Regions from separate parts of the Homo sapiens genome. Here regions 1, 2, 4, 5, 6 and 7 are each linked to region 3. The links are contacts of gene promoters, found by promoter capture Hi-C in blood cells and fetal thymus (Javierre and others, 2016). All regions are on one chromosome and are shown on one strand. Each heading gives the region's core, a stretch centred on a gene start or on the middle of the fragment in contact. The rest is flanking DNA. Distances are from core to core; before and after follow the strand shown.

What was found. Contacts are between HindIII fragments. The CHiCAGO score rates a contact against its expected background, and 5 or more counts as called.
Region 1: a fragment that was not itself captured here is called in contact with the fragment with the promoter of TMEM212 in region 3 in 1 of 17 cell types (M0 macrophages); the score reaches 5.8 in M0 macrophages.
Region 2: a fragment that was not itself captured here is called in contact with the fragment with the promoter of TMEM212 in region 3 in 1 of 17 cell types (neutrophils); the score reaches 5.3 in neutrophils.
Region 4: a fragment that was not itself captured here is called in contact with the fragment with the promoter of TMEM212 in region 3 in 1 of 17 cell types (neutrophils); the score reaches 5.5 in neutrophils.
Region 5: a fragment that was not itself captured here is called in contact with the fragment with the promoter of TMEM212 in region 3 in 1 of 17 cell types (M1 macrophages); the score reaches 6.3 in M1 macrophages.
Region 6: a contact is called between a fragment that was not itself captured here and the fragment with the promoter of TMEM212 in region 3, in 1 of 17 cell types (M0 macrophages). The highest score is 5.6, in M0 macrophages.
Region 7: a fragment that was not itself captured here is called in contact with the fragment with the promoter of TMEM212 in region 3 in 1 of 17 cell types (neutrophils); the score reaches 5.7 in neutrophils.

The regions. Positions count from the first base shown.
Region 1 is chr3:172,113,315-172,117,405 of GRCh38, reverse strand. The region is part of intron 2 of FNDC3B (fibronectin type III domain containing 3B); the gene reads right to left. Among named protein-coding and RNA genes, the nearest start is that of FNDC3B, 76 kb to the right of the region's middle. The HindIII fragment of the contact is 967 bases long and covers 1,593-2,559 here.
Region 2 is chr3:172,304,387-172,308,614 of GRCh38, reverse strand. FNDC3B (fibronectin type III domain containing 3B) reads right to left here. Exons shown (of 26, transcript NM_022763.4): 10 at 1,114-1,252. Among named protein-coding and RNA genes, the nearest start is that of GHSR, 140 kb to the left of the region's middle. RefSeq lists an enhancer at 2,742-3,036. The HindIII fragment of the contact is 9,457 bases long and covers 1-4,228 here.
Region 3 is chr3:171,841,837-171,845,628 of GRCh38, reverse strand. TMEM212 (transmembrane protein 212) reads right to left here and starts at 2,280. Exons shown (of 5, transcript NM_001164436.2): 1 at 2,087-2,280. The coding sequence starts at 2,245. The HindIII fragment of the contact is 2,451 bases long and covers 1,248-3,698 here.
Region 4 is chr3:172,223,642-172,227,450 of GRCh38, reverse strand. It overlaps FNDC3B (fibronectin type III domain containing 3B), which reads right to left. Exons shown (of 26, transcript NM_022763.4): 4 at 504-580. It also overlaps the pseudogene RPS27AP8. Among named protein-coding and RNA genes, the nearest start is that of FNDC3B, 190 kb to the right of the region's middle. RefSeq lists a silencer at 3,338-3,632. The HindIII fragment of the contact is 3,757 bases long and covers 1-3,690 here.
Region 5 is chr3:172,193,057-172,197,291 of GRCh38, reverse strand. All of the region lies in intron 3 of FNDC3B (fibronectin type III domain containing 3B), which reads right to left. Among named protein-coding and RNA genes, the nearest start is that of FNDC3B, 160 kb to the right of the region's middle. RefSeq lists a silencer at 3,007-3,197. The HindIII fragment of the contact is 654 bases long and covers 1,172-1,825 here.
Region 6 is chr3:172,144,189-172,148,045 of GRCh38, reverse strand. All of the region lies in intron 3 of FNDC3B (fibronectin type III domain containing 3B), which reads right to left. Among named protein-coding and RNA genes, the nearest start is that of FNDC3B, 110 kb to the right of the region's middle. The HindIII fragment of the contact is 2,739 bases long and covers 1,235-3,857 here.
Region 7 is chr3:172,171,795-172,176,036 of GRCh38, reverse strand. The region is part of intron 3 of FNDC3B (fibronectin type III domain containing 3B); the gene reads right to left. It overlaps LOC124906304 (a long non-coding RNA gene), which reads right to left. Exons shown (of 2, transcript XR_007096169.1): 2 at 1-4,242. Among named protein-coding and RNA genes, the nearest start is that of FNDC3B, 130 kb to the right of the region's middle. The HindIII fragment of the contact is 2,957 bases long and covers 1-2,758 here.

The sequences.
Region 1 (4,091 bases), core at 827-3,326, 270 kb before region 3:
ATAACAAACACAGGTAAGTTAATATACCACAAGCTTCTGAAAATGTCAACAAAGGCATCAATTTTCTGATTATTGAAGGGCATTCATCATCATTTATAATAGCCACACATTAAAAACTCAGGTTGAAACCTGATTTTTATAACTCAACAATAGTATACAATTAGGCATATTAAGGGAAGCAAACTTTATTTAGCTAAGCTAGGCTGTAGTTATTCAGAGGTGGGAGAAATTAATGGTGATACAAAGCAGAGATAACTTTATTTGGAAAATAATACTTCAAAATAAAGCTACTCAATTTCACTTTTGGTTATATATACGGTTATATATACAAGAGAAATAAAAAACATGTCCACACAAGAATCTGTGCATAGCAGCATTATTCATAACAGCCAAAAAGTGAAAATAACTCAGATGTCTATCAGATCATGAGTGGATTAATAAAATGTGGTAGATCCATGCAGTAAAATATTTGGCAATAAAAAAGGAATACAGTACTGACACATGCTGCAATATGAATGAACCTTAGAAATGTGTTGAGTGAACCGGGCGTGGTGGCTCACACATGTAATCCCAGCACTCTGGGAGGCCAAGGCGGGCAGATCACTTGAGGTCAGGAGTTCAAGACCATCCTGGCCAACATGGTGAAATGCCATCTCTACTAAAAATACAAAAATTAGCCAGGCGTGGTGGCATATGCCTGTAATCCCAGCTACTCGGAAGGCTGAGGCAGGAGAATTGCTTGAACCCGGAAGGTGGATGTTGCAGTGAGCAGAGATCGTGCCATTGCACTCCAGCCTGGGCAACAGAGCGAGACTCCATCTCAAAAAAAAAACAAAGATGTTGGGTGAAAGATGCCAGACACAAAAGACCAAATGTTATGTAATTTTATTTATATGAAATTCCAGAATAGGCAATATCTACCTACAGAGACAGAAAATAAGTGAATTAGTGGTTACCTAGGACGGGGGGAAGGGAGAGAGAAACAGGAAATAGGGAGTGATCCCTCTAGGGTTCTTTTTAGAGTGATAAAAATGTTCTAAAATTAATTGTAGTTAAGGTTGTACAATTCTGTGAATATACCAGATTCCAATGATTGTATACTTTCAGTGGGTGAATGGTATGACATGTGAATTATACCTCAGTAAAGCTGTTAAATAAGGAAAACTGTGTAAGCTGCTTCTGTTCACATTGTTTCTTGTTATTTATTTTTAGTTGATAATGCTTTTAAAAGCTTCATTCGTAATGAGGATGACTTTTCTTTTTAAGAAAATAATCATCCTTTTCACTCTTGCCCTTTCCCTCCTACCTGCGCAAAATGACAAGCCAAGGTTTCAAACTTAATTTGACTTCAAATAATGAAAATTAACAGTGTGTCTTATTTAGAGAGCCAGAACGCAACAGAGAATCCTGCCAAGAACTAGTCCTAATTACATCCAGAACCAGCAGAACAGAAATCAGAAGGAGGAGGGCTGTGGGAACTGCAGAGCTTTCTCATAACTGTGGTAGTTCTTTTGCATATATAGAAATGTTTAGAATGTCCTTTGCACAGCTGCAAAGTATTAAGAACGCTGTAAATACATACAAGGTAAGCTTCACCATACACACTCCTAACAGATATTCAGAGGCAGAATCCTATGGCCAGGGGATGGCTCTTAACAACTGTATGATGTGAGAGGTGGCTGAGGTGCCACATACCTTAGGATGCCACCGCCGAGGGTCTGTTGTACAGTGCCTGCAATGTCCACCCCTAGAGTCAATCCTGTGCCTGCAAAAGGTTCTTATTAAGATGAAAAGGTGTTGCTTCAGTGAGAAAGCACAGTAAAAGCCTCAGAAAACATTCATATAGATCACTTTCTCTGGTATGTCTGCTGTAGCCTGATCCTTTAACATGGAACCACCTGAGCACCACATTACGCAGGCTCTTAAGGGCAGGCAGCAAACATCAGCAGGTGCCCAAAGCAAGCATTCAAAACTCATGCAGCCCCACACTCTGGGATCCTGTCTTGGAGACTCACCTTTGTTCTTTCTTCTTTTGAATGGCCCTCTATCTCTCCCCTTTCCCTACATCCTCTTGTGTTTCTCTGCCACTTTTGGTTTTCCTTCTCCTTCACTCTGTCTTCCCCTTGTGCCTTCACCTGGGTTCAACCCACAGGCCCCAAGCCTCTACCACGCACACCTAGGCCAATGCTAAATGTTAGAACCCAAAGGAAAGAACTGAGGCTTGAAAGAATGAGGAGACACAGGATGGAGACTCTGGGAGCAGAATGAGGAAGAAAAATGTCAAGCACAGAGGCCACTGCCTAGGCTGAGCCCCAGTGATGTAGAGGCAATGACAAAGCATGGTAAATCTTGGGCTGGTCCTGCTGAGAGGGACATTTCTAACACACTTTACCCACTTAACAATTTTGCCCATTAAGGAAAAGTTAGAGTTAATGCCAAGTAATAGCTTGGAACCAAGGATGTTAATGCTTCTAACACAAACATATTTACTAATTAAAAAGACAAAACAGTTCCTTCTTGTGAGATTTTTTAAGTGTACCCCCACTTTTTCATAAAGCTTGAGTATTTTGACTATTTATAAAACAGATACATTAACAGATTCTTCTTATTAGCTTTAGAGAAAGCTTTAATAAGATTAAAAAAAGATTTAATAAAAATGCGGGTTTTTGTTTTTGTTTTCTTTTTAGAGATGGGGTCTCACTTTGTTGCCCAGGCTGGTCTCAAACTCCTGGGCTCAAGGGATTCTCCTACTTCAGCCTCCTGAGTAGCTAGGATTACAGGCATGCACCACCTCATCCAGCTTTGAAAATATGGTTTTATTAACCAAAATTGTTAAGCAGCTTCTGCTTAGAGTTGAGGTAAGATATGCAAGGTAGGGAAATGCCACGTAGCCTGCTGGGCAAGCTGAATTACAGACATGTGGGAGAAATCAACAAAACATAAACATGGTGTACAACAACATGGATGGGTGGCCTCAGGTCTCTTGGCTACACAGGCAAATGGGAATGAGGTGACCACATCTGAGAGACCTAAGTCATTTTCCAAGTTTACTCACATTTGACTAAATACCTTGTCTTTTTTTTTTCTTTGTATTAGTAATTCTTTTAATTGGGAGACCAAACACTGCATCTTGAAACCATCCACAACACTCTGCAACCTTCCCATGAACTACTTGAGCACAGTGAGCAGAAGAGCAGGCAGAGAATGACAGAGAGAGAGGCCAGCACTAACACGGAAGGCTGGCAGCCAGGCAGCATGACTGGATTTCACTCCAGGTGTAAGAACGTGGCCTGAGGTAGGCCAATGACATCAGAAAGTTTTTATTTGGAAAAGACCCCTCAGGATCTATGTGGAGACTGCTTTCTGGTGGGGCAAAAGGGAAAGCAGAGAGACCAGCGAGAAGGGTTGTCCTGTCCTACCCTAGTGAGATGACGGCACGGGGTCCAGCAGTGGTAGTGGAAGTGAAGTGGATACGGCAGAGTATGGATTCAGCACACACTCCTGAGATAAAGCCAACAGAACATGCTAAAGACTGAAGAGGAAGATGAGAACACAGAGTGAAGACTGTAAAGTGGGCGGTAAGGAAGGAGAGGAAGTGGAGAAATACTGCCAAAGAGGGAAAAAGGGACAGAAGGTAGCAACTGGAAGGGGATGTGGAATCAACTGAGGAGGTTTTGTTTTATTGGGTGGGGAGAGGTGCAGGTGTTTACGTTTTTAAGATAAAAGATACTACTGTATGTTGGTGGAAGTAATCCAGCAGAGGAAGAGACTGAGGAATCAGGAAGGGAGTTATCTGCATCAGTGGTGAGAAGACATGAAATGCATTCAACTAACAAACATTTACTGAGCACCTATTATATATTTTTTGTTCTTAAGAGGTTGATAGTACAATGCAGGAGAAAATAATATAAATTATTAAGCAGCAAGGTCAGCTCCAACCAAGTATATGCAAAGAATATACTACGATAGACAGAGGTTGGATATACTGTATGATAGATTAGAGCAGGGGGCATGTACTGACATCAAATAAATGATTAACTTATTTGAATTATTAGTATATTTTGGGTATTTTCCAAGCAATTGCTCCCAAT
Region 2 (4,228 bases), core at 1,210-3,709, 460 kb before region 3:
AGGGATCAACTGAGGCCCATGCTTTGCTGCTAACCACTACTCTCAATTGCTTTCATCAGCTCCCTAGACCAACCTGACTCTCTGGGCCAGAAATGAAAAGATAAAATATTTCTTCACTAATAATGGATCTTCCTAGCCATTTTCTTTCTTTCACACATTACTATTCTCCCCCCAAACCCTAAATCTTTATCTCTACCTCCATCTATTTTACATTTTAAATTATATTTTAAAATATTGATGTAGAGAAATAACTGCTATAGAGATTGATAACAATCTACTGTTTTCTCACAAACACACAACTATGATTAACAAGCTAGTGATGCCTCTTGAGGAAGGGGCAATATGATCTCTCTTTGGTAACAGCTAATTTTAGCCAGTGAATTGTGTTTCATGAAAATATATAATTCAGTCTTTTTTTCTTAAATAATTAGTAATCCTGACTGGTGTATGGCCTAAGTAGTGAAACTTAATGAAGTACTAACATAGTTTAGATCACTAAATGTTCTAGGTTGTTTTATGTATTAAACATTTCAGTATCACCACTGAAATGTGCCAAAAGGGCCATAAAACTACTTTATCTCTGAATCTTTCTTGATAAAAACTTTTTGCTAAAGTCCTCAAATGTTTGTTGAAATGAGCTAGACTATTAGAAAGTGATAAGATGTAGGTATTTTAAGTACCTATATCACTTATACGTGTTGCTTATGACCTGAAGACATTTAGAAAATACTGCTGCAAAAAAAAGCTAAAGCTAGATTTTGCAGTTCCCTCCTCCCACCCCTTTGCCCAACTCTTACAGAAATGACAACTTTTGATATAACAGTTGGTTGCACATACTTACTATGCAGAAAACCAAACATATCACAAGACTGGAGTCGTGCTAAAAAATATTTCAAATGGCTATAGACTGACCTTATATTAACTCGAGACTCTTTCTCTGTTGCCCAGGGTGGAGTGCAGTGGCGTGATCATGGCTCACTGCAGCCTTGAAACTCCTGGGTTCAAGTGATCCCCCCTCCTCAGCCTCCCAGGTAGCTGGGACTAGGAACACGTTGCCACCACACCTGGCTAATTTTTAAATTGAGACGATTCTTGATGCTTTGAGCTACCCACCTTCCACTGCAGGGTTAGTGAACTTTTGCTCCTATGTGCCAGCTTAGGGGGGAAAGGACACTCGGGTGCACAGCTGTGGGTGGTGAAGCTAACAGGCTCGGAGCAGGATCCCTTTACGGAATTGTACATGGCATACACCCTGAAAACAAAACAGACACAGTCAGTGGCAGTGACTCATCATAGAAGACCAGGATTCTTATCTTTGTTTCACCCTAAGGCTTTCTGTAGATGAACAGAATTTCTTACGGAGTGAGTATCATGCTCTTGCTCTTATCTGTTGGTCTTGTCCTGACCTATGGTTAGCATTAACAGGGGACAGTCATCCCAACAGGTATTTGTCTCAGTGTGTGCCACCCAGCTCCATTTCAAGATAGGCAGGATCTACTGACTAGAAGAGATTATTCTAAGTAAGAAAATAAACCTTAACCCCAGAACGATCTCCAAATATATGTTCTAAAACCCCATGAGCTACTCTCTGGTTGACTTTATCTGGAAAAAGGCTAAGAGTTAAGAGCTGGATAAAAAGGCAAAAGAAACAGTAATAAGAGGTCACAGACTGGAGAGAAAGCATAAAAGTACAAACAGGGTAGATACCATCTTTGAACTACATTTAATACTGTACACATTTATGTAAAACTAGGGATGTTTCACAGAGAAGCTAACAAGTGTGACTTTCTCTAATTCCACAAAAACAATGTTCAGGTACAGTTTAATCCACGTGAATATTTAACTCTTATACATGAAGCCAAGATTAAAGATGTTCGGTCTGTACACTAAAATGTTTGGCTCAACACTGCAACATATGTGCTTGATTTCTCCAGAGAAGCCATGAAGAAAAAGCATAGAACATACTATTAATGCCACACTCTTCAAATAGCATAAAATAGGGCTATGCTGATTTTTATCATCTTCCTACTATTCCATTTTTTATACTGGGAATTTATTTTTTCAAAATTGAAAATGTACTCTTAAAAAACAACAACAACAAAGAACACTTTGCTGCCTAAAACAGATGCAAGGATTAAACTATTCACAGAGTTGGCAAATAGATATTGAGCCCTTAATTCTTATAGCCACCCTCTCTGAGGTAGGGAAATCTTATTACCCATTGCAGACAGAAGGAAACACAGAGATGAAGTACATTTCCCAAGGCCACACAGTTAGAAATTTGGATCAATGGTATTTATCCCTGGAAGTCTAACCAGTATATACGGTATTGCCTATTCCCCTTGTTCATCCTGCAATCATGTTCCTCTAAACACCACAATCCACTTCCCTTAGCCCTACCCAATGAACACAAACAACAGGTAAAGATAACAACATTATGGAAGATAGGTCCCAAGTGTGTGTGTGATTTGCAAAGTCATTTCTCCACAAAGTCCATCATGAAAAATTCATAGAGGCCATACGTCAAAGGCACTAATAGATATGTCTACTTTGTACCTCAAAAGATAAAAATACATACATATTACATATTTGATCTATTTGCCTTATGGGAGGACAGCATGAAATTTGATCCAAACAAATAATGCTTATCATTGGGATGCTCTCCACCCAACCCCTGATGAAGGAAAAGGTCCTTTTTGCACGCACTGTAAGTAGGCACGTGATAATATAAAACTAAATGGTAGATCTGGTAAGATCATTTCCCTGTGTCAGGATGGGCTCACTGGGAGTAAGTTACTTTAAATGAATCACAACATGTTCCAGACATGGGCAGGGCTCAAGCCTGAACTTTGATACACAGAATTCTCCAACAGGTGACTCATGGGTTGCATCTGACCCAAGACACATGTGTATGTGTGGTGGCAGTGTGCAAAAACATAATGTTTTGAAGTATTAGAGCCACCTATGAATTAAAAGATACAGGCAATGACCATCACAAAAAGAGACAACCAGACACCATGCATTCCTAATAAAGGACTATGTCACTACCTACAAAACTGTCTTGGCAGAAAAACTGAACCTGTATCTGATTAAACCTCTTCATTGCTTTATGGGAAATATAGAGGACAGGAGAACAATATTAAGCAACACAACACGGATGCAGTCAGCCAAACTCATACTTGTGGAAGACTCTACAGGACAAACAAATTAATCTAACAAACAAGTTGCAAGAAAGAGAAAAAGATAAAGGGAAAAATGAATGGATTAAAATATATTTAAGACATATCAACCAAACCACATATTCACACATTTGAATTCCAATTACAACAAACTAAAGAAACAAAATCTTCATTCTTAGAACTGAGGAAATGGGAACAGTCCCGGGATTGTGAAGACATTTCAGGTGTGTGTGATGATGGTAATATAGTTTATAGGTGAAATAATATGATGTCTGAACCTTACTTCAAAATCATCAGGGCAGGGGAGAGGTAAGTGAGGACAATGAGGTAACAGAAGTTGAGTGATGAGAGTTCATTAAACTACTACTATCTAAACTACTATCTACTTCTGACTATATCTAACATTTTCTGAAATAAAAAAGTAAAAATTAAGCCTTCACTGAAAAATATCTGGAGCGCTCTCATTTTAAAAACCAAACTTCTGGCTTCTCTTAAAAACTCAAGGTTTTAGCAACACTTGGCTTTTTTTTTTTTTTTTTCAGATGAAGTCTCGCTCTGTCGCCTAGGCTGGGGTGCAATGGCATGATCTCAGCTTACTGCAACCTCTGCCTCCCAGGTTCAAGTGAGTCTCCTGCCTCGGCCCCCTGAGTGGCTGGGATTACAGGCACTTGCCATCATGCCTGACTGATTTTTGTATTTTTGTAGAGATGGGGGTTTCACCACGTTGGCCAGGCTGGTCTTGAACACCTGACCTCAGGTGATCCACCCACCTTGGCCTCCCAAAGTGCTGGGATTACAGGCGTGAGCCACTGCACCTGGCCTCACTCGGCCCTCTTTCCTGCCCTGTAGTAATGAGCTAAATCTGTGGGCAGCTCCCCGCTTTAGATGGAGCAGGTGCTGCAGAGTTCGCTAGAGTCCCCATCATTCCTACTGTCTCCACAGCACTGAGACTGCTTTTCAGCTGACCCTTACCCAACCCAGTTTAGCTGTTTAGGTTCTCTGCCTCCACCCAGTAAGTATGTCAGTTTGCAATGACTGGGCATTTGCCT
Region 3 (3,792 bases), core at 1,031-3,530:
TGGAGACACATCATATCATTTCTCCGGGCCTAACTGGTAAAAATAGATGTTTGGCCTAGAACAATACATTCAATCATCTGTAATCTTAATCAAAATCACCAATATTTGTTTAATGTATTATGTTGCAGTCTGAAAGGATAGGCAAACAGCTGTAACAAAAGAATGTAGGGTTGAACTCTAATCATGATATTGTTAAACTTTGTGAAATCAGAATTTTTAAAAAAATTAAATGAAATAGAAAATATCAGAATATGTTTCACATAGAGGGTAAGTACTATTTTGAGCAACTTTTGTTTTATAGATATATAAACATCTACTATACATGTATATACATAATAGATGTAGATATCTATTTATCTAGAGAGAAGAATGTAGATGTATTTATGTACATTCTGGGTCCTCACCTAAAATATTTTTCTGACTCTGAGTCACCAAAAAAAAGTTTGGAAGCCACTTGAATAAGTGTAACTGCCATCTCTGCATTCCAGTAGAACTTAAACAAATATTTCTTTGAATGAATTGTGGTTTCAGGTAGGTGTTGGAGAAAAGAAGGGAAGATCAAGATTGGGGTGATAGATGCAAAAGAATGTATTGAAAAAGAAAAAAAAACTGAGAAAGAGAAAGATAACCCTGTGGTTTCCTCATTCCATCGACTCTCCCATAATCCCACTGGCTTCCGTCTATCTGCACACATTCATCAAACCCCACTAGACCAAGTTCCTTTAAGATGAAGACCTTGTTGGATCCTTCATTGTAACTCAACGACATAGGGGGCTATTCATAAATATTTATCTAATAAGTAGATTAAAATTTATATTTCCTGAGGTCTAGTTTTTAGGTGGTATCTCAGTTAAAGTTTTAACTTTTTAAAGATTTAAGATACTATCTCACACAACAGTGGCTACATTTTGTTTGTTTGTTTTGAGATGGAGTCTTGCTCTGTCACCCAGGCTGGAGTGCAGTGGTATGATCTCGGCTCACTGCAAACTCTGCCTCCCAGGTTCATGTGATTCTCCTGCCTCAGTCTCCTGAGTAGCTGGGATTACAGGTGCATGCCACCACGCCTAGCTAATTTTTGTATTTTTAGTAGTGACGGGGTTTCGCCATGTTGGTCAGGCTGGTCTCGAACTCCTGACCTCGTGATCCGCTCCCCTTGGCTTCCCAAAGTGCTGGGATTACAAGCGTGAGCCACCATGCCCGGCCAAGTGGCTACATTTTAATAGAAGATTCCTTAAGATCAAAAAGCTTCAATATTGAATTCTCCAGTCTCCAGTAGTGTCAGGCGTCACAGGAATCAATGAGAGAAGGATTTGTTGGACAGGTGGGTCTCTGTAACTTCTCTTAAATCATACCAGCATGGAAGCCAGTTACTCCCAAGACTAGATGTGCCCATTTTTTTTTGGTTGGAGAGCTAAGGGACCAGGCCAATCGTTTATCTGTGCAATGATTCAATGAGCGCACACGGAGTACTACTTAGTGTCGTACGCTGTACTTGGCACATGTACTTTCCTAGTGAATTGTGAAGTCCATCTTGAATTATTGAATTATTTGAATTATTTTCAAATAATTGAAAATTATTGAGTTATTTTCAGTTCAAACAGTTGCTTGCAAGAGAAAGGTGGAAAAACAAATATTTGGGGTTTGTAAATTTTGGGGCCATGTACATCTTAGTGTTTGCAATGAAAGCATTAGTTTGAAAATTATTTTACTTTGTTCTGTATTTTAAAATTACTTTTCAAGGTTTATGTTTTTTTCTAAATTCAAAATTCACATTTCAAAAGATTCTAATTTCTTAGCATATCAAGTTAAGTGGATTAAAATAAAATAACTTTTTAAGAATTTCTTGAGCAGCATGTCATTAAAAATACATAATATACATGTATACATGATAAAACAATATTAAGATCATTTTTATACTTAAAATGCAATTAATAGAAATCAATGTTCCAAGGCGGATTCTGATTTTTTGTGGAATTTTGACTTCTTTGTATTGTTAGAACAATTTAAAAGGATATGTTCTTCTGTTTTCCCTTTCCCTCCCACCTTCTTTTATTTTCTCAATATATTTAATAAACTATTTTCATACCAAAGCTCCATTCCAGATAGGACAAGCAATTCGAACACTCCATCCTGTGAACCAAGGCTTGTAAGAAAAGACAGGAAAGAAAGCAATAACTCCAGAGCATACACTGAGGATCCCCAGAGTAACAAGAATCCGGCCAGCAGCCTGGTAGAGGCCCTTCATTTTCCTTGGTGGCTTGAGGCCTTGGTCTCAAAGATGTTTTGTTACCAAAACATGAGCGTATGACAGGCCTCAGTAAATAGAAGTTTCTTAGAGACAGTAGCCACGACACATACGAACTGTTGATCTACTTGGAAACAAGATTCTATTTGTTTTACCAAAGATGAAATGTACTCAAATAGTCCTTGGCATAAATTTGACACAATAAATTCTAATAACAATTTATTTAAGAGAAAGAGAGAAAAAAATTATCCCTTGCTTTGGATTGCTGCCTTGATTCCCTTCATTCTGCCCTGTCCTGGGGAGTGACCACTTCCTGGCTTAATCAGATTCAAAGGCTTGCTGACTGAGCTAATTGTTTCTCAACTCAACCTGCCTAGTGGTTCCAGCATAAAGCCAACATCCTTTGTGTACAATAGATCCACATTCCCAGCACAATTTCCCACAAAACAAAGTAAAAATAAGCACCCTGGTCACTTTTCATTATATTTAATTTAAATGATTTCAACCCAAAGCAAGACCTTCACCTCCTTTCAAAGTTTAATTCCACTACAATTATTTTTGATAAAGATTTTTGATATGGATTCATTCCCAAATGGGCATGAACTTTATTATGGAGTTTTGCATTGTTTTCACTAAACCAGTTTCACCTTATTTTACTATTAATTTAATTTTCAATTAAAGTGTGATGATGGAAATGTATGCAGTTATAAAATAAAATAAACTTTGAGGAGCAATTCATCAGTTGAATAAAATGCTGATCCCCATTCATTCTTGAATCATAATTCTAATTTGAGATATTGAACTTAGGTACATTTAGGCAGTTACAAGTCATCTCTTACTTTTTCATGCATTTGAGAAAATGGTGTTATTTGATTTTGACTGATTGGATATATGTGGATGTCTGTTCAAAAAAATATCTTAAAAACACAGGTCAGTTTCTGAAGCCATCTGAATAATTTTCCTATTTAACATTAATACATTATTCCTTTTTACTGAAATAAAAGGATGAAAAATAATTTTATGAATGCAAATGAAGTGGTTTAGGACATCGATTTTGAGTCAGATGGAGCTGTGATCCGATTCTGGTTCCACTCTCTACCAGGTTTGTGTCCTTGAGTAAGGGCAAGTTACTTAACTTCTCTAGGTCTATTTATTCGTATGCGAAATGGGAATAAAAGTTAGTGTTTATCTTTAATGGATTTGGTTGAGAGGATTAAATGAGCTAAAACCATAAATGCCTAGCCCAGAGTTTAGCATAACGAAGATGTTCAGAAAGTTACTCTTGTTAAATTGGGATGTTCCACCTTTGGGGTCCTTCCATCGTGGGACAAAGGTGCACTTATTGTGGTTTTTTTTTAAATTCATCACCTTAAAAACATCATGTTTAACTCTTCCTGAACAATTTGGTAAAAACTCCCAAAGGACCCTCCCATATGTGGTGGAAAGAGAAGCTTCTCTCTGATTCTCTGCTTTTTTTCTTTCTGCCTTTCTGTCTTTAATAGCCATTCCACAGTTTGACCCAGATTTTGAAGCAGTTGCATTCCTGG
Region 4 (3,809 bases), core at 563-3,062, 380 kb before region 3:
GAGAAATTTAAGTGCAAACAGCCAAGTTCTCACATCATACTCAATAACTCACCAAGCCTAGCTTTTGCCACATTGTGGAGCAATTGAACTCCATTTTTTTCCTTCTGTAACAGAAGGTAGGCCCTGTTTATGTGAGCTATGTCTCCTTTAATATGTTAACTAACTACATCTATGAATTTTCTTCCAGAAAGTTGTATTACAGGTGGAAGGAAATGTCTGAAGCAGGAGACTCCATAAAGAAATCACAACCAAACAATCAAATATAAAAACCCCACTTGGCAGAGGACAGTCTAGTAGGCCTTCTGTGTCTCCTTTTCTCTGGTTCTCTGGTACGTCAAGTGGCAAGACACAAGAAACGCCATGTGGTGCCACAAAATGATGGCAAACCTAGCACTACGGTACCCAAATTAACTCCTGGAATATGGCTTTGAAGCCTCAACATATATTCTGTTGGAGCAACGACAGTGTCCATAGTGAGTAGAGAAGTCCATCAAATGGATTACCTGTGAGATATAACCTGGAGGCACATGAATGGGAGGAATGGATCCATTGGGTGACATCATGGGAACTTCAGCAGGTCCTAAAACAGACGAGTCAGATGTTAATAGCTGAAGAAACATACATTATTCAAAATAATTAATGTTTTCAATGTACTATCCAAACTGAAGATAATTAATGACTTTGACAATTTGCTCTTCAAAAGTTGGTATATATTGCCTTAAAGCTAAACCTGAAACCATGAATGAAAAGGAATTCTCCAGCTATACAACTCAAAGAAAACAAACAAAAAACCCAAAACTATAAGTATCTTTATAAATATTTAATGATTCCCAAAACCTCAAGTTCCATAAACCAAGATTGCTCAGTTAGTAGTAGTGTAACAGAGTGGGGCAAAAAGTTTCTTTCTTTTTATTTGGCCTTTAAAAGAATGCATAATTAATCAATATTTAAACAAATCAATTATAAAATTATTTTTTATTCTGGTTTAGAAAGCTCCTATAGACTTTGCATTTATGATTTTCAGTTAGATTATTTTTAATAAATTACTGTAATATGCCATAATTTGAAATAGAAGAAATCCTTAAATTATTCCAAACCAACTGAATAAGGCAGGGGGAAAGAATACATTTTTTTTTTTTTTTTTTGAGACAGAGTTTCGCACTTGTCACCAAGGCTGGAGTATAATGGCGCGATCTCGGCTCACTGCAACCTCTGCCTCCCAGGTTCAAGCGATTATCCTGCCTCAGCCCCCCGAGTAGCTGGAATTACAGGTGCCCGCCACCACGCCCAGCTAATTTTTGTATTTTTAGTAGAGACGGGTTTCACTGTGTTGGCCAGGCTGGTCTTGAACTCCTGACCTCAAGACCCGCCTGCCTTGGCCTCCCAAAGTGCTGGGATTACAGCTGTGAGCCACCGTGCCAGGTCTAGATCATATTTTAAAATAAGGAACTATTAAAAATATGTATGCCAAATTTACATGGATTATTTCAAAGTAAAGTATTAAATTAACAAGAAATTTGTTTCAAAATAGGAAATTCAGTTTTCTGATCCACCATCTGGGATGGAACCACAAGCAACAGGCAGATTTTCATAAAAGTCCTTACAGGAAGAGCACCACTCTCAAGGTTGAACCCTTGGACACAACAGAAAATCCAAAGGCCAAGATCCAGAATAAAGAAGGAATTTCTCCTGATCAACAGAGACTGATCTTTGCTGGCAAGCAACTGAAGGATGAACATACTCTAACTACACATTCAAAAGGAGTCCGCTCTTCATCTTGTGTTGGGACTTCATAGAAGTAGTCATACCACTCCCAAGAAGAATAAACATAATAGAAAAAGATTAAGCTGGATGTCCTGAGATACAATAAGGTGGATGACAACAGCAAAATGAGTGGCCTTCATTAGCAGTGTCCTTCAGATGAATGTGATGCTGGAGTTTTTATGGCCAGCCACAAACAATTGACAGACATTATTGTGGCAAATATTGTCTGACTTACTGCTTCAACAAACCAGAAGACAAGGCTCAGCACTGTGGCTCACTTGAGCCCAGGAGTTTGAGACCAGCCTGGGCAACATAGCGAGATCCCATCTCTACAAAAAATAAAAAATTAGCTAGGCATGGTGGTGCGCGCCTGTGGTCCTAGCTACTTGGAAGGCTCAGGTGGGAGGATGGCTTGAGCCCAGGAGGTCGAGGCTGCAGTGAGTCAAGATCAAGCCACCATACTCCAGCCTGCGCACAGAGCAAGACCCTGTCTTCCCAAAAAAGTTTTTAAAAACAGAAGACAAGTAATTGTGTATGAGTTAATAAAAGACGTGAACAACAACAAATTAAATTCAATGAATGTTAATTACATGTCTAAGGCAAACAACAAATGGCAAAGGTTAACAGTTACCCAAGACATAGTTTTGAGTTAATATTTAATTACAAAGAAACTGGCTGTTGTTACATCAAAATCAACTTCAGACACCTTTCAAAGATCTAACGATTAAATAAATGGCTTCCCTAGAAGTGCAAGAACCTCATGGCCACTGGTTTTCTATTTGGTGGCTGGCTCGCCTATTTAGCAGCCCACCTCCCAAATGTCAATAGAAAACTATGTGTTTCTAGTCTGAGATGCGACTTCCTGGCTCCAAGTGCCTTGCATTGTTTATTTGCTTTATCCTAATGTATGTTGTGCTGTCGGCAATGAAAATTGCTCAGCTGGAACAAAAACCAAGAGAAATACAACACTTTATTTGGTAAAAGGCAGATCCTGCCATCCAGTGCTGCATTTAAACGTGCACACAATGCATCCTTCACTTCACAGTACAACCAGCGTTATGACCACTTCACAGGAGAGGACTCAGCAGGGGGAAAGGGACAGGGACACTGGTGAGCATATGAACAAGTCTGTGAAATAGGAAAAAAAACAGGAGCAGGGAAGAAAATTTGTATACTATTTATCTAACATTCCAAATGCCAACCGTTCAATCCAAATTCATGGATAATATACCAAATCACTCAACTATCTGGTCATCTCTGTAACTGTAAAAAGTAAACACAGCAGTCTCTCACATGCTAACACATTGGCAATAATTTAAAGCAAAAGAAGAGAATGGCATAAAAATCGATCATTGCATGACCCCATTTAATTCTTAAGTATAATTTAAACGAATACATCCACCAATCGCTGAAGGCTTTGGTTTCCAAATCCATTTTTCTTGTCAGCCTCAGCATTTTTGACACAGCCAACGAGAGAGTTGTGTATTTACTTAATATTTGTATTTGAATTGACTCATTAAAAATAAATCATAAACAATGATGTCTGCCCCATCCTGAGCAGTATCTGTGAAATTCAAGGGCTGATGTACACAGCTCAATGGAGCAGATGTTAAGAGTGTGATCTGCCTGGTTTTATTCCCCAGCTCACTATTCACACTGGTTGCGTGACCTTGAACAATTCACTTAGCCTTTCTGAACCTTACTTCCTAATAGTCATAAGTGAGAATAACAATTCTTACTTCATATGGTCAGGTTTAAAGATGAAATTCATTACACGCAAAAGCGCTTAGAGCAGTGCATGGCACAATAATCACTCATCAAAATGTTACTAGTTATCATTATTCTTTACAATGCTTTTTATAATTTTATAGATAGTTTTGGTTGCTTTTTAAATTTTTTTTTGTTACTATTACAAGTAGTAAAGCTTTTTAATATTCCACACCCATGCAACATAAAATCAACAAGTATACACTTGGTACAACATTGACTTAGGGAACAATCCTTCCTCATTAGGTAAAAATAAAATGTTTCACAGTACAGAGTGT
Region 5 (4,235 bases), core at 249-2,748, 350 kb before region 3:
GCTGTCAAGTATTTTGCACCGTATTTGTAACAATTCTGCAGTTTTGAGGCTGTTTCAAACATTTTAAATAATTATTATTTTATTTTACTTTATTTTATTTTATTTTATTTTGAGACAGAGTCTCACTCTGTCACCCAGGCTAGAATCCAGTGGTGCCATCTCGGCTCACTGCAACCTCCACCTCCCAGGTTCAAGTGATTCTCCTGCCTCAGCCTCCCGAGTAGCTGGGACCACAGGCACATGCCACCACACCTGGCTAATTTTTGTATTTTTAGTAAAGACAGGGTTTCACTATGTTGGTCAGGCTGGTCTCAAACTCCTGACCTCATGATCCGTCCGCCTCAGCCTCCCAAAGTGGTGGGATTACAGGCGTGAGCCACCATGCCCAGCCAAGAATTGTTCTTTAAAAAAGAGAAAAGTAATAACCGAAAGCATATATTTAACCCAAATACAGACTGCCCATTAATTAACTCACTTACTCTGAGAGCTCCGGCTGTCTTCTTTGGACAAGAAAAAGCGAAACGTGAGGTGCCATCATCTGTGTGGCTCATCCTAACATTACAAGACTTTGAGGGCTGTCCTTAACCTCTAGACCCTCCCTCTTCTATTCAGGATACAATCAGAAGGGAACCTTTCACCAAGCTCTCCCAGGGGTCAGATCACAGAATGTGACCTGAAATGTCAGCCAATTCCCACCTCCATTTTACAGATGAGAAAACTGATGTCCCAGAAAGACCAAGAGTTAGGGCTAAAACTTAGAATGTCCAACTCTAAACTCAAGGAAAAAGACATATGGAAATAAATTATAAAATATTAAAGGCTGGGAGACTCTAATCCCAGTACTTTGGTAGGTCAGGGCAGGAGGATCCTTCAGGCCAAGAGTTTGAGACCAGCCTAGGCAACAGAGCAAGACCCCCATCCCTACAAAAAAAAAAATTAGCTGGGCATGGTGGTAGGCACCTGTAGTCTCAGGTACTTGGGAGGCTGAGGTGGGAAGGACCCCTTGAACCTGGAAGTTCGAGGCTGCAATGAACTATGATTACACCATTGAATTCCAGCCTGGGCAACAGAGCAAGACACTGTGTCTAAAAAAATGTTTTTACATTTAAGGTTAAATTTAAAAATAAATTAAATTTAAAAATCTGAAAAATCTTCCCAGCAATTAAAAGCTTTAGTGTGGGTGGCTTCATCAAATGCCAAGTACCTAAACCTTTCAGATTTAAAGAAACAACTCACAGCTCCCCAGAAAGTGTCCTCTATAATAATTAACATTGTACATTTACAAAGGCTCACATTAAGTGCCAGAAATTATGCTAAGCATTTCATATAATCTCATTTAATCCACACAACTCTTTGAAATCTAAAGGGTTTTATCTCTCATTTACTGTTGAGGAAACTGAGGATTAGTGTCATTATGTAACTGATTTAAGGTCAAAAAGTTTGAGGCAGAAGACCCAAAATTGGGTCCAGGCACTCTGACTGGAATTCCAAAGCCTGGGTTCTTAACTGTGCCCACTCCTGTGTAATTGAACAGCTCATCCTATTCCTCAGGCTGGCTTGTGACTTAACCTGTACTGCTACAAATGAGAATGGTGTCAAATGGGAATGACCCCTTCTGCATTGTACCTCTAAACAATAGTCAAGAACAGAGTTTCTCAAAATGTAATTTGCTGAAAACAAGCACCTCCAGGCATAGAGATAAAAAGAGAAAACAATGTGGAAGAGAGCTAAGTTACACAAAATTAACAGCAGCACAACTTCTCAGATTCTTAACGTGTGTTGTGGAGCTTTAAGCATCTGAAACCTTTTGCCATGGAGCAAAGCTTGTGAAAGCCAGCTTCCTGCCTTGAACAGAATTATTGACCCAGTATCAAGTGTGGTGCATTTTAAAAAATGCTACATAGTGTACCATTTGTTTAAAATAAAATGTTCAATCATTTCATAGCAAGAGCAATTGATATCAAATGACTAAAATAATTTCACACAGTGTTCTCCCTCGGGATCTCAGTTCAAATACTCTTCTATACATTGCAAATACCCTGCCAAGAATCACTCTAAGCAAACAAAAATGGAATGCTAAGTTAAGAGGGGTGGGGGTTGGGGTGCCACCATTCAAGACATAGATCCTTGTAACTAGTAAAAATACTAGTAAAAATAGGTTTTTATCTCAAGATCAAACTTTTTTTAAAATAACTAAAGGTCATGATTTAACTGAAAATAATTTAGACTTTGTTTTCTTTCAGTTTTTACAGACTTAGATTTATTTCTCTTCCTAAAGAAAAATTAGTTATAACCTTGGAAACTAATTCTGTAAGGTCCTCCACAGCTCTGATTAACAACCTCCCAGCGGTGCTAAGGAGTCCTAAGAAGCCGTTACTTCGCCAAGGCAACCTGATAACATAACAGGTTTCTTAGCAACAGGGTAGTCACAGTAACCATTCACCATGGTATTAGAATTAGGTTACCCACCAGAGTTGAGGCCAAAGGAATAATTTAAACTCATTAAATGTATAGGCCCCAGGTAACAAGAAAAATACATTTTTAATGCCACTTGTGATTCACCTCTGAAATTAAGTACTTATATGACTCTTCAGTGCTGGACTAGATGAGTAGATATTTATAAACACAATGTCAAGTGTTTCAAATACTCAATACCCTTTTCTTAATGTGAAGCTATGTATATGATCTATGTCATAATTATATTCTTTTCAATGAGTATTTCCACCAACCCATTTAGCAGTACCATATATAATTTTGATGAAAAGATGCAACTTTATAGAAGCAGTAAGGTAGAATCCAGACGCAGAAAACAATAACTTTGGAGTGAGTACGAAGGATTTTAAAATCCATTTAAATGGCAAATAACCAAAAACAAAAACATGTCTCATTTCACTTGACAGGTAAGGTCATCCATCAACGACAAGAATCACACGTTTACATTTTTGTAGCTCTCAAAGTATCTACTAGAGTACGAAACAGCAGAACCACATAAGGGCTGCTGGTTGAATAAATGCATCAATCAATACTACTCTACAACAGTATAACCACTAAGATAATTTTTCTTTTTTTTTTGAGATGGAGTCTTGCTCTGTTGCCCAGGCTGGAGTGCAGTGGCGTGATCTCGGCTCACTGCAGGCTCCGCCCCCCGGGTTCACGCCGTTCTCCTGCCTCAGCCTCCCAAGTAGCTGGGACTACAGGCGCCCGCCACCTCGCCCAGCTAATTTTTTGTATTTTTAGTAGAGACGGGGTTTCACTGTGTTAGCCAGGATGGTCTCAATCTCCTGACCTTGTGATCCGCCCGCCTCAGCCTCCCAAAGTGCTGGGATTACAGACGTGAGCCACCACGCCCGACCACCACTAAGAGAATTTTTAACATTTGGCCTGCTCACCCACAATTCTTATTTATCCAAAAACTTACTCCTTTCTTCCATTCACCCTTCAGTGTGAACACTTTAGTTATTAAAAAGATGATGTTATTTTTGAAAAGCTTTGTTGATCTTCCTTTTGTGGAACTAGTATAGTCTGTGATGTACTTTCCTCACAAGGGCACATTTCTAGACATCAAATACAGGTCCCTTCCAACATGGAGTACAAGCACAAGGAGGAGGAAAGAAAACAGGCCAAGTGAATCCAGACAGACCCAGGCTTCCCAAATCCTAGACAAAGTCCAGCAGTAGTGGGGATGGCAGAGGTGCCATCAGCCAGCGATCAAAATGCTACAGGGCATGCAGAGCAGACCCCTTAACCCCAAGCATAAGATTACAAATCAACCATGAATTAGGAGCTACACACCAAAACAAAAAGTCACTCAAAGTAACTGGTCTACTAAAAATTGAGTAATATGATCCATCTAATGCATCTAAATATTCTGCAATATCCCTTATTATACTTGAGACTAGCAACCTAAATATCTTGAAAAAAATTATAGAGAAAGCAGTTAGAGGAAGGAAGGGAAGGGAAGGGGAGGGGAGGGGAGGGGAGGGGAGGGGGATGGGAGAGGGAGGGGAGGGGGAGGGGGAAGGTAGAGGGAGAGGGGGAGGAGGGGAGGAGGGGAGGAGGGGAGGAGGAACGGAGGGAGGGATGGAAAGGAAGGGAGGGAGGGAGGGAGAGGAAGGGCGGGAATGAGGGAAAGGTGGGAAGGAAGGGAGGCAGGGAAAGGAAGGGAGGGAGGGAGGGAGGGAGGCTGGCTATGACCTAATATTGACACAGTAACACAAGAGGACAGATTTGGAGAG
Region 6 (3,857 bases), core at 1,355-3,854, 300 kb before region 3:
CCTTTGAAAATTAGAGTCCCGGGTTCAAACCTCAATTCATTAAAACTGTAGAAAAGGGAGGAAAAATTTTTCAAAAAGAAAAAAATTCTATCTTTGAGCTTATAAATAATAATCTTTTAAGTCAATTTTTCTTATTTTTCTGCATCTAGATGGAATTTTTTTCCCTTTTGTCCATTGGGTGACCAGACTTAATTCTGAGAGCCTTCTTTTTAATTTAAGGGTACAACTTCTGTAAATACCCTTCTCTTACAAATGTCACCAACCCCGACGATCTCCACCTCCATGAGTCTCAGAACTCCTGAACCAAGAACATCAGTAACACCCTGAACATCTCAGAAATACAAATTTTCTGGCCCCACCCACCCCAGACCTGAATCAGAAACCCTGGGGGTAGAACCAGCAACTGTGTTTTAACAGGCCCTCCAGGTGATTCTGGTTTATGCTACATTTTGAGAACCGAGACTACCTGTTGATAATCTTTAGGGTCTGACATAGATGTCATATACTGAATTCATATACTATAGGGACCACCCACCCAAGTCAAGCAACAAAATGATTCCTAGGGACCTACACCATTCGAGCTAGATTAGGAAGGGAACAAAGAGGGAAGCAAAAGTCCCAGTCCAATCATTTCATAAAGGCATGCGAAAACAGGGCTCACAGCAGCTTATCAGCTTCTGAAAAGTGGCAAGTTGTAAGATGGTTATTTTCTCACCTCACTTTTTTTTTTTTTTTGTTTGGAGACAGGGTCTCACTCTGTCGCCAGGCTCGAGTACAATGTTGCAATCTCAGCTCACTGCAACCTCCATCTCCTGGGTTTAGGCAATTCTCCTGCCACAAGCCTCCCGAGTAGCTGGGATTACAGGCATGCACCACCACACCTGGCTAATTTTTGTATTTTCAGTAGAGACAGGGTTTTGCTATGTTGGCCTGGCTGGTCTCAAACTCCTGACCTCAAATGATTCCCCTGCCTTGGCCTCCCACGGTGCTGATTACAGGCGTGAGGCACCACGCCTGGCCTTCTCATCTCACTTTTTAAAGTCTGTCCACTCTGCATAATCATACCTGTTCCAATCAACTTTGAATTTCATTAAACATAGGTGAACTTTGAATTTCGTTAAACATACGTGAACTATTGTGTTTACATCTAAGTAAGTATAAAGTAAATCTGTACTCTGCCGAAAGCAGTAACTCATATTTCTGTCTGATGGTTCTTGTTTATTACTTAGAAGCTTATAACCAAAGCTAAAAAGCAATTTTAATAGGTTCAGTAAAGCCAACTACCACATAGATTTTACTTAATATGTATAAGAATACAAGATAAAAGATCTTTAGACACTTTACAAAACTGCCAAACTTGCTAAAGAAGATGAACCTGATAAACAGCCACAGGTACACAGCCTGTACACTGAAATGTACGTGGGAAAGCACAGTGCAAGAATTTCTTGAGCTGTCCTGAGGGTTACGTTAACCAGAGCTTCTCAACCTCACTACATATTCAAATGGCCCGGGAGCTTTTCAAAACCACTCATGCCCAGTCCCCAACCCTTACAATCTGACAATTCCCCTACAATCTGACAATTCCCCTGGGCTCAGACAATGTGACACTTCCCTACAACTAGCCTACATATCAACTTTTAAACTTTTTTTTTAAGTTCCCAGGTAATTCTGATGTGCAAAAGGATATAAGCCACTGTTAATACACACAGTTTTAAAATTCTGAGATGTTAGACATGTCCTTTTCCTTGGGCATATGATTCAAGAACTATGTCACTCAACAGGTGAGCGCTTGACTCACAGAATAAGAACTGTCGTGACTATTAACTAAGAATAAATTAACCAATTTAATCCTAGATCTTGATTTCTAACTCATGGGATGATAGTGCCATGCTTTTTTTTATATATTTTATTAATGTTTTTAAAAAACTATTTCCGCCAGGCACGGTGGCTCACGCCTGTAATCCCAGCACTCTGGGAGGCCGAGGCGGGCAAATCACCTGAGGATGGGAGCTCAAGATCAGCCTGACCAACATGGAGAAACCTCCTCTCTGCTAAAAGTACAAAACTAACGGGGCGTGGTGGCGCATGCCTGTAATCCCAGCTACTCAGGAGGCTGAGGCAGGAGAATCGCTTAAACCCGGGTGGCGGAGGTTGCAGTGAGCCGAGATCACACCATTGCACTCCAGCCTGGGCAACAAGAGTGAAACTCCATCTCAAAAAAAAAAAAAAAAAAAGAAAGAAACCTATTTCAAGTTTACACTCAAAGACAATTTATACTATCTGCAAAGATTACTCTTCCTCAACAGAACACAAGCTCAGTTCTAGCATTGCCTAAGTACAGATGCTCTTTAACCTGTGACCGAGTTACGTCCCAATGAAACAATCGTAAAGTTGAAAAATCTTAAACCATTATAAATCTGGACCATTTATACTTGCTTTATTCACAAGGTACCACAGTGCAGCAGGCAAAAACTGACATTGCTGGATCTAGCATAAGACATTCTGAAATGATGTTCAAAATCCAACCAAGGAGAACTGTTGAAGACTCAGCACTTCAAGAACAAACAGTTTGACATTTACATGAGATAAGTGTATGCGTATACCCACTTTAATGAGAACTGCAAAACGAAACAGGAAACACAATTCATCTGGTCATTTCTCTAACACAGAATAACATTTTCACTAGAAGACAGAGCAAGAAAAGGACTTATATTTTGATTTAAGTTTCCACTCTTTTTTTTACTCCCAAAGACTTCTCCCTTGATGCTACACCTCCCTCCTCTTCTTATCAATTTGGAACAGAAATAATAATCTGCTAATACATACCCGGGAGCTTTTTAAATAAAGTGAAGATGTGGACACTCCTATAGCTAGAAAGATAACAAAACAGGTGTTTAAAACTGGCTCCACAATGCAATATATAAAGCATCCAAAAAGGTATTATATTTAAATTATGGAATGCTTCGACCTTAATTCAGGCACAAAAAGACTTGAATACTTAGGGGGGAAATAATCTTTTCTCTTCAAATAGAAAAAAAAAAAAGTGGTAGGGGGAGGAGGGTCTATCCAACCACACAAGAAATGTGAAGCTAATTCAAAGAACTCAAAAGCAGGAATCATAAAGGAAACCCCCATTCTGTGGGCAATTCTGAGGCCAGTTTTCTCCGTATTTAGATTGGATCCAAAAAAGAAGTAGTAAAGCATATTCCCCATTAACTCAGCAGTCTTGCCTCACAAATAGTGTGCAAATTACCTTCCAAGACACTGAAAACCCTCTTCAGAGAGGAAATACCCAAGTTGAGGAAAAGGAAAAAAATACCCACTTAAAAAAAAAAAAAGTTTGCCTTTTAAACCCATATTTGTTACTCTTAATGTGTGTCCAATTAAGAGACAGAGAATACAAAATGTTTAGTGCTCTCAATTATGTTACAAGACAAATATTTTTCTAAGACACTGTAGTTCATCTACCTTAGGGAAACATTCATCCAGTGTGTTCTCACTGGTCACAAGTCATGACTATCTCCTAAATGTCTGTAATATCTGCTTCTCCTTCCACATCCCACCACGAATGCACTCCTTCAGGCTCGACGCCTGCCTGCCCTCTTCAATCACACCGCTGGTAGAGAAAAACCATTATGCCACCTTCATTTAACTCAGTAAATGATATGATTTGGATCTCTGTCCCCTCCAAATCTCACACTGAGATGTGACTCCCAACGTTGGAGGTGGGGCCTGCTGGGAGGTGACTGGATTGTGAGGATGGGTCCCTCAGGAATGGCCTAGCACCATCCCCATGGTGATGAGTGAGTTCTCATTCAGTGCACAGGAGATCTGGTTGTTTAAGAGTCTGGGACCTC
Region 7 (4,242 bases), core at 31-2,530, 330 kb before region 3:
TTTAGCCAAGTGGGGCTTGCACACCTATGCTGAGCTTTCACCTGATGGGGTAAATTTATATTCTGTGTAGACATATAATAGAAAAGGAACAAAAATAGGCTTATAAAACATTCTATAGATAAAACTGTTTGTTACAGGTAAGTTTTCATTTCCATCCACATAGTGCAAACAAAAAATATTAGGGCAGATTTTTCACATCTGTACTACTGTGATCCCCTCCCCAGGAAAAACAATGTCTTCTGGGGAGACCCTTCACACTTCTCCAACGCGGTACAAGGTTCTCACTTACTATGGTAATCATGTGTTTACATATCGGCTTTAGATTTAGGGTTTTCTGTGTGGTTGTCTGTGTAAATTCTGCTTCTAGATTTTACTTAAACCCCTTTAAGGGCAGAATCTACATCAAATTCATTTTCGTATCTCTAAGAATATTCAAAACATAAAAAGAACTCAAGAAATTAAATATTTGCTAAATGAAGAACTATTTGAGGTTCTTCAGCTACACATACTCTAAATGGCCCCTTTCTAAGAATTTGCCTTTCAGCAATGGGGAGGAGAATAGTAGGTCCCAGTTGAGAACAAAAAAGAAAACAAGAGGTGAAAAGAATATGTAAGCATTTTGCTGTAATACCTCCCCCACCACCCGCCCATCCGCCTACCTACCACGTATAGGACTATAAAATCCTGAGGAAAAAAAGCACTTAAAAGAACAGGCTGGAAATGTTTCAGGAAACCCCTTTCTCTACTTACTCTCCACTTGTTCATTCAACAAAGGCCCAAAGGTGACAGGAAGAGAAGCAAGGAGCAGCAGACATTAGCTCTCTGTAGCTTTTCCCTGGCCATCAACTAGCTTCTCTATTACCACTCTGAGATGACTGAGAGAGACAACGGCAAGGAGACAAGAACCCTGGACTGTCAGACAAATCCAGGGAATGCAGCAGAGAAAGCAAAAGCAGCGAGAAAGCAAAAGCAGCAGGGGCCTGGTCAGGGAGCAAAGATGGAAATGAGGAGAGCAACTGGGAACCCCTGTGAGAAAGCATGGCCAGAGAGGAAACTAGGACATGGGACCGGATGGACAGCAAATTGTATTGGGGGGGGGGGGGTGGCGGGGGGAAGGTCTCCAAAGTCCACAGAGAATCAGCAATTTGGCTAAAGCATGTATGAATAATTGGGAATTAACTGTATACACAAAAGATTTCACCTCATTTACCACAGCAGCTAGATAAACATCATACTAAATTAAATAAGAGGCTATTCACCCACAACCAAACCGAGACCATTTGTCTTCATTCTCTACTAAGATTTTTAAAGAAATTTCACCATGCCTTTGCTGTCGCCCTCCCAATCTGTATAAGGCCCCTGTTTGTTTGTCTTGATGAGGTCGATTCCACTTCTCAAGACTGAAGTCTGAATAGCACTACATTAATCCAGATGCTCTTTCTAAAAGTCTTTCAAATTCAAAGATTCCAAACATTAACATAAAGATACTCAGGGACCAGCTGTTGCAATTAACAAATTGTTTATATGTTCCTTTCTGTTGGCTTAAAAAGTACTAGAAGGAATTTTAAGCAAGATGAGACTGTCATTCAGATTTGGGAGTTTTAAATAGATGGTTTTCATGTTGTTCAGGCTAAAAATAATAGTGTGTATGTCAGACTTCTTGTAAACAGGCTTCAATTCACAAGACTCAGTCTAACTAAGTGGCAGTCTCACCATGCTGTAGAAAACAAAGCATGCAGAAACCAAATTATTTCTGGAATAAGCTCAGTATTTGGAAACTTAATCATTTAGACCTGTCTCTCTAGAGAACAAGAGTAGTCTTCCCCAAATATGCTTGAATGCCTTGGATCCTAACAGGTTCAATAATGAATTCGCTCTTTGGTAAAAGAGAATGAGAGTCATTCTGCATGCAGAGGTGTGAAAGTGGCACAGTCTTCACAGCCCCCACCACATTCCTCCCACCTAAGGAGGTGCCACAGAGTACAGACACATTTCCCGCAATGGGCATCTTTTTCTGCACCCATGAATGGATTCTCAGTTCGCTGACGAACTCGAGAGTTTTCCCCGTAAATAACACATTCTTAAAACATGCTACATCAACACTGAATGAGTTTCACTGGCAGCTCCTACTATTCCATTTCAGTACTCCTGCAACAGCAAAAGCCTTCTATTCCTAGGACATCGGGAGGCTTCCCACCCCGCGCCCCACCCCTCCCCCAGACAGGGTCTTGCTCTGTTGCCCAAGCAGGAACACAGTGCCACAATCACAACTCAAACAGCCTTGACATCCCAGGCTCAAGAGATCCTCCCACCTCAGCCTCCTGAGTAGCTGGGACTACAGGTATGCACCACTATGCCTGGCTAATTTTTTTTATTTTTAATTTTTTTAATTTTTTTTTTTTTTTGTAGAGACAAAGTCTCATTATGTTGCCCAGGCTGGTCTCAAACTCCTAAGTGCAAGTGATCCTCCCGCCTCGGCCTCCCAAAGTGCTGGTATTACAGGTGTGAGCCACCACACCATGCCTACAGAAGGCTTTAAACATTTCCAACGTGAGTCATACAGTAACTCAAAAATTACACGTTGTCTTCTCTTACAAGCAGTGACTTCAAAGAACACATCAAATTCTTCCATATGGTTGTTTACTTCTTGTAACTTCATAGAGAAGTCTCTATTAAGGTGTTTGGTAACCCTTGGTTTTTATTTTTAAATGGTTAAAGTTTAGGACCCCCACGATAAAAGAATCTGTGATACAAAGCTTGGGAACACCTCTAGAGAGATGTCCAAAAGAAGGAACAGATAACCTTATGACAAGCAGAAAAGGGAGTTCTATAAACTCCCTGTCTTTTAACCCCTGAGCAAATGTCTCAGCATATTCTGCCATCGTTTCGCTTTATCTCTAACTCTATACTCTAATTCCAGTTTTTTTTTCCTCTGACTTCTGAAAAGGGGAAAGGGAAATTCCCTTGAGAAAAACAGTTTTCTATAAATGACTTCATTGAAATTTTCTCACAACACACTAAAGAACCATTTCAGTGCCAACATTATACAGGCACTAAATTAATATAAGTGCCCAATTAATATAAGATTAAATACAGCTATAGTAAAACTGAAATCCTCAGAGTAGAATACACCCTAAGTAACTCACTCCTAAACTTTCCTTATTCTTTCATTGAGGAAATGTCGAAGAATATGAAAGAAGCAAAATAGGTCCCTTATATTTAAATGGTGACCATTTGCAAAACCATGACTTAATAGAACAAGTGGAAAATAGATGACCTGAGCGATATAAATGCATATAAAAATAGGCACTGAAACATCAATCAGTATGTCTAAACCTATATATTTATGTTAAGCTATTTCACATGTAAGGTTTTTAAAGAATCTGGGAGTTCCCCAGGCAAGCAAGTTCTTGGAACCCAGTATTTTTGCTGGATTCCCATAGAAAGATATCTCTTCAATACCAGTTCTACTTCATTTCTTCCCTGGGACCAGTCAGATATGCTCCTTCCCCCAGGAAACATATTCCCCCAGGAACAATGACAACAAAAAAGGATCTTTGAATTATCCCTCAGATTTGTAATTTTGGACACTCTTTACTTTGTCACACTAAAAATAACCCAGAAATTGAAATCTAGGTAATTGTAGCTATTCCTACTTTTAATCTTAGATATTCTTTACTTCGCTGTTCCTTACTTGATCCCTTTTTTCTTCTTTTTAAATCTAGAAATTAAGATCTAGGTAAGTTTTAGTCATGGGTTAGGTACAGGTACACTTGACGAAAAATTTCCCACAAGCAACAAACAAGAAATAGACAATGCCTATTTTGAGAGATGCTTTAGAAAACACATATCAAATTCTAAACCCCTTACGCCATCATCTGCTTACTGACAGCAGTAAGAGCTGCTAAATGATTTCGGTGTTTGGGTGTCTGAATGCTGATAGCAGAGCATATGTTTGCAGGTACACAATATTTTCTTTTTATGAGAGGCGAAGGAGGAGGAATGGAATGATGGCTAGGCACAACTGCTCTCTTAAAATAATAAACCTTAAAATGTCTCTAGTCAACCACAGCATACCTATTTTGCTACAAACATATCTACTTTCACCATACTTCCACCTCTCATGCTGGCTTCCATTTACCTCCCAGGACAGTGGTGCTAAAGTACAGGGCAGACATGGGGTAAAACCCTGTACACATCTGCTGTTTATAGGGGAAAACCCCACTATTGGATTTTTTTTTT